Regions from separate parts of the Homo sapiens genome. Here region 2 is linked to region 1. Evidence: promoter capture Hi-C in human tissues and cell types (Jung and others, 2019). All regions are on one chromosome and are shown on one strand. Each heading gives the region's core, a stretch centred on a gene start or on the middle of the fragment in contact. The rest is flanking DNA. Distances are from core to core; before and after follow the strand shown.

Region 1 (4,922 bases), core at 1,547-4,046:
CTTGAACCTGGGAGGCGGAGGTTGCAGTGAGCTGAGATTGCACCACTGCACTCCAGCCTGGGTGACAGAGCAAGACTCTGTCTCAAAAAAGAAAGAAAAAAAGAAAGAAAAGAAAAACACCATGGCAGGAAACTAACAAGGGGCCAGGAAGCTGGGATGTGAACCTGGACCTGTTAAACTCCAGAGCTGCAGCTGTAAATCACATCCCTCTCCTGGACCACAGGAGCTCACTGGCCCCAGTTCCTGCATTTGGAAAATGGGGATGGTTTTGACACCCCACCCCTCCATGCCACCATCCCTTCCTGGCCTCATGGTGTGGGGAGGGGGTGGTAAAGAATTAATAAGGCATTAATATTCATCACAGGCTGGGTCCAGTGCCTCGCGACTGTAATCCCAGCTCTTTGGGAGGCTGAGGCTGGAGGACCTTGGAGTTTGAGACCAGCCTACGCAACACAGCAAGACCTCATCTCTACGATAAATTTTTAAAAAGTCCGGGTGCAGTGGCTCATGCCTATAATCCCAGCACTTTGGGAGGCCAAGGCGGGTGGATCATGAGGTTAGGAGTTCAAGACCAGCCTGGCCAAGATAGTGAAACCCCATCTCTACTAAAAATACAAAAAAATTAGCCAGGTGTGGTGGTGGGCGCCTGTAATCCCAGCTACTTGAGAGGCTAAGGCAGAGAATTGCTTGGACTCGGGAGGCAGAGGGTGCAGTGAGCCGAGATCATGCCACTGCACTCCAGCCTGGGCAACAGAGTGAGACCCTGCCTCAAAAAAAAAAAAAAAGAATCAAGAGAAATTTCAGAGGGAGGAGAGACAGAATAAGGCAACTGAGGATGATAGAGGGAGGGAGGCAGAGAGGAGAAGATGAGACAGAAGTCCATGTCCTCTGGGTTTGATGGGAGGGAGGGAAGGAAGGATGGAGACACAAGAGGGGGAGTGGATATGGGGAAGGAGTCAAATTTGTTTATGGGATTGAGAGGTGAAGCCGGCTAGGCTTCTGGGTCGGGTGGGGACTTGAACTTTTCTGTCTAGCTAAAGGATTGTAAACGTACCAATCAGCACTCTGTGTCTAGCTAAAGGATTGTAAATGCACCAATCAGCACTCTGTGTCTAGCTAAAGGTTTGTAAATGCACCAATCAGCGCTCTGTGTCTAGCTAATCAGGTAGGGGACTTGGAGAATTTTCTGTCTAGCTAAAGGATTGTAAATGCACCAATCAGCACTTTGTGTCTAGCTAAAGTTTTGTAAATGCACCAATCAGCACTCTGTCAAAATGGACAAATCAGCACTCTAAAACGGAACAATCAGCACTCTGTAAAATGGACCAATCAGCTCTCTGTAAAATAGACCAATCAGCAGGATGTGGGTGGGGCCAAATAAGGGAATAAAAGGCCACCCGAGCCAGCAGCAGCAACCCACTCAGGTTCCCTTCCACGCTGTAGAAGCTCTGTTCTTTCACTCTTCGCAATAAATCTTGCTGCTGCTCACTCTTTGGGTCCGCACCACCTTTATGAGCTGTAACACTCACCGCAAAGATCTGCAGCTTCACTCCTGAAGTCAGCGAGACCACGAACCTACCAGAAGGAATAAACTCCAGACACATCCAAACATCAGAAGGAACAAACTCCAGACACACCATCTTTAAGAACTGTAACACTCACCGTGAGGGTCCACAGCTTCATTCTTGAAGTCAGTGAGACCAAGAACCCACCAATACTGGACACATTTTGGCGACCACGAAGGGACTATCGCCTATCACCAAGCGGTGAGACTATCGCCTATCACCAAGCGGTGAGTACCATCGGACCCCTTTCGCTTGCTATTCGTCCTATTTTTCCTTAGAATTTGGGGGCTAAATACCGGGCACCTGTCGGCCAGTTAAAAGCGACTAGCGCAGGTGCTGGACTAAAGACATGGGTGTGAGGCTTTCTGGGAAGGGGCTCTCTAACAAACCCCGACTTTTTGGAGTTGGGAGCGTTAGTTTGCCTGGAACCAGCTTCCGCTTTTCCTGTACTTCTGGGCTGAGTCGAGGGTTGACAGGAAAGCCATTCAGCTCTGGGGTCTTGACAACAAGTTGGTTGATCCTGTGGCCATGAGCAGAACTCTCAAAGTCATGTCGCCCAAGTGAGACTCGCCCATCTATCCTATCTGTCCTGACCCTTGCCTCCTGGGTCCTAATGCCTGTCAGACAAACTTCCTCTCGCCTCTCTTCTCCGAGGCTAGTCCCACCTCTAAAAACCACTCCCTGTCTCTGGTGCTTTTCTAGTTTCTCCTATAAGAATGACTTCTAGTATAAACTTCAGGACTCTGTTACCTTCTTTAGGCACCTAGGCTCACTAATCAGAAAGACATAATTTTTGCCCAAAGCCCTGTTGTAGGGGGGCTATCTGGAATTTTAGGATCCCTCCTCAGACAAGCAGGACTAATAAAAGCTATTCCTGAAGCTAGGATATGGGGAGCCTCAGAAATTGTATTCTTCCTATTCATATAAGTGAGGACAAAAGGTGTCACTCTTCCAACCCTGGAGATCCCTTCCTTCCCTCATGGTATGGCCCTCCACTTCATTTTTGGGGCATAACATCATTGTAGGAAATTGGTAAGGTCCCAATACTAAAAGGAGAATGCTTAGGACTGTAACAGGTTTTCGAGAATGTGTTGGTAAGGGCCACTAAATCCAATTTTTCTCGGTCATCTTTGTGGTCTAGGAGGACAGGCAAGGGTGCAGGTTTTTTGAGAATGCGTTGGTAAGGGCCACTAAATCCGACCTTCCTCGGTTCTCCTTGTGGTCTGGGAGGAAAGCTACTGTTTCTGCTGCTGCGTTGGTGAGTGCAACTATTCCAATCAGCAGGGTCTAGTGACCATTACGGGTTCTTGGGCAGGGGTTGTTTCTGCTGCTGCATCAGTGAGCGCAACTATTCCGATCAGCAGGGCCCAAGGACCATTGTGGATTCTTGGGCAGGGGGAGAAGAAAAACACACCAAAATCGTGGGTGGTTTTGTCTTTCAGATGGGAAACAGGCATCAACAGGCTCACCCTTGAAATGCATCCTAGGCCATTGGGACCAGTCTGACCTGCAAACCCTGAAAAAGAGGCAGCTCATTTTTTTCTGCACTGTGGCCTGGCCCCAATATTCTCTCTCTGATGGGGAAAAATGGCCATCTGAGGGAAGTACAAATTACAATACTATCCTGCAGCTTGACCTTTTCTGTAAGAGAAAGGCAAATGGAGTGAAATAGTTATGTCCAAGCTTTCCTTTCATTAAAGGAGAATACACATCTATGCAAAGGTTGCAATTTACATCCCACAGGAGAACCTTTCAGCTTACCCCCATATCCTAGCCTCCCTACAGCTCCCCTTCGTATTAGTGACAAGCCTCCTCTAATCTCCCCTGCCCAGAAGGAAATAAGCAAAGAAATCTCCAAAGGACCACAAAACTCCCCTGGGCTGTCGGTTATGTCCCCTTCAAATTGTAGCGGGAGGGGAATTTGGCCTAACATGGGTACATGTCTACTTCTCCCTCTCTGATTTAAAGCAGATCAAGGCACACCTGGGGAAGTTTTCAGATGATCCTGATAGGTACATAGATGTCCTACAGGGTCTAGGGCAAATCTTCAATCTCACTTGGAGAGATGTCATGCTATTGTTAGATCAAACCCTGGCCTTTAATGAAAATAATGCAGCTTTAGCTGCAGCCCAAGACTTTGGAGGTACCTGGTATCTTAGTTAAGTAAATGATAGAATGACAGCTGAAGAAAGGGACAAATTCCCTACTGGTCAGCAAGCCATCCCCAGTATGGATCCCCACTGGGACTTCAATTCAGATCATGGGGACTGGAGTCATAAACATCTGTTGACCTATGTTCTAGAAGGACTAAGGATAATTAGGAAGAAGCCCATGAATTATTCACTGATGTCCACCATAACTCAGGGAAAGGAAGAAAATCCTTCTGCCTTCCTCGAGTGGCTACAGAAGGCCTTAAGAAAATATACTCCCCTGTCACCCAAATCACTCAAGGGTCAATTGATCCTAAAAGATAAGTTTATTATCCAATCAGCCACAGATATCAGGAGAAAGCTCCAAAAGTGAGCCCTGTGCCCTGAACAAAATCTAGAGGCATTATTAAACCTGGCAACCTCACTGTTCTATAACAGGGACCAAGAGGAACAGGCCCAAAAGGAAAAGTGAGATCAGAGAAAGGCCGCAGACTTAGTCATGGCCCTCAGACAAACAAACCTTGGTGGTTCAGAGAGGACAGAAAATGGAGCAGGCCAATCATCCAGTATGGCTTGTTAGCAGTGTGGTTTGCAAGGACACTTTAAAAAAGATTGTCCAATGAGAAACAAGCTGCCCCCTTGTCCATGTCCCCTATGCCAAGGCAATCACTGGAAGGCACACTGCCCCAGAGGACAAAGCTTCTCTGGGACAGAAGCCCCCAACCAGATGATCCAACAACAGGACTGAGGGTGCCTGGGGCAAGTGTCAGCTCATGTCATCACTCTCACTGAGCCCCAGGTAACTTTAACCATTGACAGCCAGGAAATTGACTTCCTCCTGGACACTGGTGCGGCTTTCTCAGTGTTAATTTCCTGTCCTGAACAGCTGTCCTCCAGGTCCGTTACCATCTGAGGAATCCTGGGACAGCCTGTAACCAGGTATTTCTCCCACCTCCTCAGTTGTAATTGGGAGACTTTGCTCTTTTCACATGCCTTTCTTGTTATGCCTGAAAGTCCCACACCCTTATTAGGGAGGGATATATTAGCCAAAGCTGGAGCTATTATCTACATGAATATGGGGAACAAGTTTCCCATTTGTTGTCCCCTACTTGAGGATGAAATCAAGCCTGAAGTCTGGGCATTGGAAGGACAATTTGGAAGGGCAAAAAATGCCCACCCAGTCCAAATCAGGGTAAAAGATCCCACC
Region 2 (4,922 bases), core at 1,824-4,323, 330 kb before region 1:
CAGCTGTGCTGATTTCACACTGGCGGAGAAGAGGACCCTTGCTGATAGCGGACTGCTCTTTTATTTTTTTATGAGATGGAGTTTTGCTCTTGTTGCCCAGGCTGGAGTGCAATGGCAAGATCTTGGCTCACTGCAACTTCCACTTCCTGGGTTCAAGCAATTCTCCTGCCTCAGCCTCCCAAGTAGCTGGGATTACAGGTGCGCACCACCATGCCCGGCTATTTTTTTTTTTTTTTTGTATTTTTAGTAGAGATGGGGTTTCACCATGTTGGCCAGGCTGATCTCGAACTCCTGACCTCAGGTGATCCGCCCGCCTCGGCCTCCCAAAGTGCTGGGATTACAAGTGTGAACCACTGCTCCCGGCCGATAGCGGATTACTCTTAATGCCCCCAGCTGCTGCAGGAGTGGAAGAGGCCAGTCCAGCCCCGACTGTGAAGGTCTGGCCTTTACTCAAAGCAACTGTGGTCCTCAGAACTCCGGGATCATCCCGTTTCTTGCTCCAACCCCTGGGTCCCAGGTCCCCAGCGCGCCCACCCCAGTGCTCCGTGCTTGCTGGTCCCTGGAGGGCCCCCTTACTGGGAACCCTTCCTCCCCGTGAAGGCTGCCGGCGGGACAAACAGTGAGGGGTGAGGCAGGGAGGGAGACTCACGTTGGGGACCTCCCCCAAGTCTGGGTAACACCGTCTTGGCCGCGGCCCGCGGGTTGGGAAGGTAGGGGGCAGTGAGCCGTAGCGGAGAGGCTGGCCCCAGCCCGCCACGCCGCTTCCCCACGCTCGCAGCCACGCGGAGCCGCGTCCTGGTCCAGCCTCACCCACCCAGAGCAAGAGGCGGAGGAACTGGAACAGCGCCCCGGCCCGTGGGCTGCCACTGGCCGCAGCAACGGGACGGGTGAGAGCACCTGCCCCCGACGCGTCTTAACTGCTCTGGTGGGGCGGGGCTGACCGTGCAAGCCCCGCCCCAGTCTAAGCCCCTCCTACAAAGCCCGGCCCCTTACCATAAGCGCCATCTGTCAGGCTCCGCCCACTGTCTTAAATCCCACTCACTCTGCCCTGCCCCTGACTCGGAGCCATATAGCAAGCCCCGCCCATAGCCATAAGCCACGCCCACCCAGCCCTGCCCCTGGGCTCTAAGTGTCATTTATCTAGTCACGTCCCCGGCTAGAAGCCACACCCACCAGGCCCGGCCCCACCTCTAAGCCCCACTCACCCGGCCATGTGGTTTGGGACAGGGAAGTAGGCTAGGGGCCGCCGCCTCTGGGCTCCCAGTGGAAGGGGAGAAATGAGAAAGGAGTTTAGGATGTGATAAATACCCACAGAGGTCAGATGTAGCTATGGATGCAGGCGATAAAAAGTTTAAAGCAATCAGCTGTGCGGCCTCTGCAGCGCTCCTTTCGCCCTCCCTAATCTTCACCTCGTGTCTCCCCCAGTCCCTGTGTCCTGGCTGGGTCCTGCTGCCCCAGGGAAAGAAGACATGCCTTCTCCCATCCTGGCTAACATGGTGAAACCCCGTCTCTACTAAAAATACAAAAAATTAGCCAGGCGTGGTGGCGGGAGCCTGTAGTCCCAGCTACTCGGGAGGCTGAGGCAGGAGAATGGCGTGAACCCGGGAGACGGAGCTTGCAGTGAGCCGAGACAGCGCCACCGCACTCCAGCCTGGGCAAAAGAGCAAGACTCCGTCTCAGAAGAAAAAAAAAAAAGACATGCCTTCTCGGTGAATGTTGCTTTGCTTCCTGAGGGCATGGCTACCCGGGGCTCCTGGCTTTTCTTCCAAAAACAAAACATTTCTTCCATTTTTTCTTTTTCTTTTGTTTTTTTTTTTTTTTTTTTTTTTGAGACAGAGTTTCACTCTTGTCGCCCAGGCTGGAATGCAGTGGCCCAATCTCGGCTCACTGCAACCTCCGCCTCCCGGGTTCAAGCGATTCTCCTGCCTCAGCCTCCTGAGTAGCTGGAATTACAGGTGCCCCCCCACCACACTCGGCTAATTTTTGTAATTTTAGTAGAGATGGGGTTTTGCCATGTTGGCCAGGCTGGTCTCGAACTCCTGACCTCAGAGGATCCGCCTGCCTCGGCCTCCCAAAGTGCTGGTATTACAGGTGTGAGCCACTGTGTCCGGCCACCGTTTTTTTTTCCATTTTTTGAGACAGGGTCTTGCTCTGTTGCCCAGGCTGGAGTGCAGTGGCATGATCACAGCTCACTGCAGCCTCAACCTCCAAGGCTCAAGCAATCCTCACACCTCAGCCTCCTGAGTGGCTGGGACTACAGGTATGCACTACTACGTCAGGCTAATTTTTTAAAAAATTTTTGTAGTGACGCAGGTCTCTCTATATTGCCCGGGGTGGTCTTGAGCTCCTGGGCTCAAGCAATCCTCTGGCCTCGGCCTCCCAAAGTGTTGGGCTTACAGACATGAGCCACCATGCCTGGCCTAGAGAGTTTCTTTCTTGTTGGGGTTGTTCACCGGTGGGAGGTGCACCATTGTGCCGTGCTGACTATATTCATAGAGTTATGTAACCATCACTCTCATCTAATTTCAGAACAAAAGGAAACCCATACCCTCTCACAGTCAGTCCTTCATTCTCCCCTCCCCCCATCCTGTGGCCACCGCTAATTTACTTTCTGTTTCTATGGATTTGCCTGTGATCACAACCAGAGGATTTCTGTGACATGCTAAGTTACCTAACCATGGTGTGGAAGGAGAGGGAAATGGAGTGAAGTTGGGGACCCACCAGGGAACAGGTGGCTTGAGGGCGGGGGGAGCATGAAGGTAAGGGCTTGTTTGGGGGCTCAAGGCAGTCTGAGCCTTGTTCGCAGGCAGCCAGTGTCCACCAGGTGTGTGCAGGTGAGGGAAACAGGGGAAAAGGCCCTTTCTGGAGACAGTAGGGGTGCTGGCTGGGAGGCCTGGGATGGGGAGTGGGGAGGCAAGGGGGCCTGTGGGTCGAGGTTGGAGCTTGCTGTAGAAGAGGGAGAATTCCAGAGGCTGAGAGTGCAGGTGGAGAGGAGGAGGAAGGGAGGAGGGCGGGCAGGGGGTGGCTGGGTGGGGCTCTGTCTATAAAGAGTGAAGCTCAGCGTGTTGGTCCTGCAGATGGGACAGCTTGGCCTACAGCCCGGCGGGCATCAGCTCCCTTGACCCAGTGGATATCGGTGAGTCTTTTCCTTGAACATGACTGAGATGAACAGCTTTTCCCTCCAGCACAACTTGTTCCTACTTTATACAACCTCCTTCCCTTGCCATATGCCTGGGGCTTAAGAGGGGGGATGTTCCCAGTACCCACTCCCCTCCTCTTCCTCAGTCCTTACCACTTCCCTCCACGACCCCAGGTGGCCCCGTTATTCGTCCAGGTGCCCAGGGAGGAGGACCCGCCTGCAGCATGAACCTGTGGCTCCTGGCCTGCCTGGTGGCCGGCTTCCTGGGAGCCTGGGCCCCCGCTGTCCACACCCAAGGTACTGTGTTCGGCAATGCCTACCACCAAGTGCCCCTCTCCCCATGCCCCCACCCCACCCCTTTTGTCTCTTATCTCCTCCGGAAGTCTCCCCAATCCCATCTCCACTGAATTCTCCCGCTCCTGACATGCAGGAACTCCTGGTGTTTGGTTAGCTCTTGGGATGGGGTCGGGGAGATGGAGAGTCCCCAGTTCCTTCTTCGAGAGCCCCATGGAGTCTTTTGCAAGACTCCTAAAGATGTGAGGGAGCAGAGGGTGGCTTCCAGCTGTGGGCAAAGCCAGTTACTGCCAGGGATGTATTGTAGAATCCTAATCCTGCCGAGCCAGGGGTGGGGTTGGAGATCAGGGCCCTGGAGACTGACAAGAGTGGATTCCCATCCTGGTCCCTCCATGCAGTCCAGCTGAGAGTTAGTTGCTCCTAAACCATTTTTTTTTTTTTTTTTTTGAGACAGAGTCTCACTCTGTCACCCTGGCTGGAGTGCAGTGGCGCGATCTTGGCTCACTGCAACCTCCGCCTCCTGGGCTCAAGCGATCCTTCTGCCTCAGCCTCCCAAGTAGCTGGGACTACAGGCGTGTGTACCATGCCCGGCTAATTTTTGTATTTTTTAGTAGAGATGGGGTTTCACTATGTTGGCCAGAGTAGTCTCGATCTCCTGATCTCAGGCGATCCGCCTGCCTCAGCCTCCCAAAGTGCTAGGATTACAGGTTTGAGCCACTGTGCCCGGCTTCCTAAACCTTTAGGAGCCTCCGTTTCCTCAGCTGCAAAGTGGGAATCTAAAATTCCCACTGCATGGCTCTGACTTGAGGGTCCAGTGAGCTCATGCCTGCAAAAGACTAGGCCTCATGTCTGGCGGCGGCAATAGTAACTGTTCCTGTTATTAATAGGGAACTCTTTCCTTCTTCCCCACTCCCTACCGCAGAGCAAGCACTTGAGGATTTCAGTCGCCAAAGGACAATTCCTGGGCCTGGGGTGTCCCCACGGGAGCCCTGACACTGGGTCCTACATCCTCTGAGTTTCAGCAGCTGGCCAAAGCAGGGTCCCTGGCTGGGCGGCAGACCCAGGGTCCCACCCTCCTTCCCTGTCTGCCCCCACCTGACCCACCTGCCCCTCGGCTGGGTCTGATGGGTCCAAGTCCTTGGCCTTTGCCTGGGAAGGGGGTTGGGCTGTGGTCTGATTGTTTTGCTATCAGAGCCAGGCCCAGCCCAGCCCTTCGATCCTGGCCTCCAGCCTTGGGAACTACCTGCCTGGCACTGCAGTCCGAGGTTCCAACAGAATGCGCTGCCCCTTGCCCTCAGAGGCCGCGGTTGGGAGACACCTGGAGGGCTCGAGTCCTCCCTTTCCCTGCTCCTGCTGGGCTGGGCTCTGCAGGGACTCAGACTCGGCCTCTGGAGGTTAGTTCTGGCAGAGGTGAGATTGCAGAGAACTCCAAAGGCCATTTAGGCAGAGAATTGCACCCCAGCTTCCTCCACTATCTCATCAGCTCATC

Evidence for each region. Contacts are between HindIII fragments. The study calls those that stand out against the background at their distance.
Region 2: a contact is called between the fragment with the promoter of CCL25 here and a fragment that was not itself captured in region 1, in 1 of the 25 tissues and cell types used here (spleen).

The regions. Positions count from the first base shown.
Region 1 is chr19:8,378,186-8,383,107 of GRCh38, forward strand. All of the region lies in intron 1 of RAB11B-AS1 (RAB11B antisense RNA 1), which reads right to left. It overlaps LOC124904632 (a long non-coding RNA gene), which reads left to right and starts at 1,414. Exons shown (of 2, transcript XR_007067128.1): 1 at 1,414-1,792. The HindIII fragment of the contact is 3,783 bases long and covers 906-4,688 here.
Region 2 is chr19:8,049,687-8,054,608 of GRCh38, forward strand. It overlaps CCL25 (C-C motif chemokine ligand 25), which reads left to right and starts at 3,074. Exons shown (of 6, transcript NM_005624.4): 1 at 3,074-3,136; 2 at 3,314-3,436. The coding sequence starts at 3,364. RefSeq lists silencers at 627-716, 1,017-1,076. The HindIII fragment of the contact is 31,009 bases long and covers 1-4,922 here.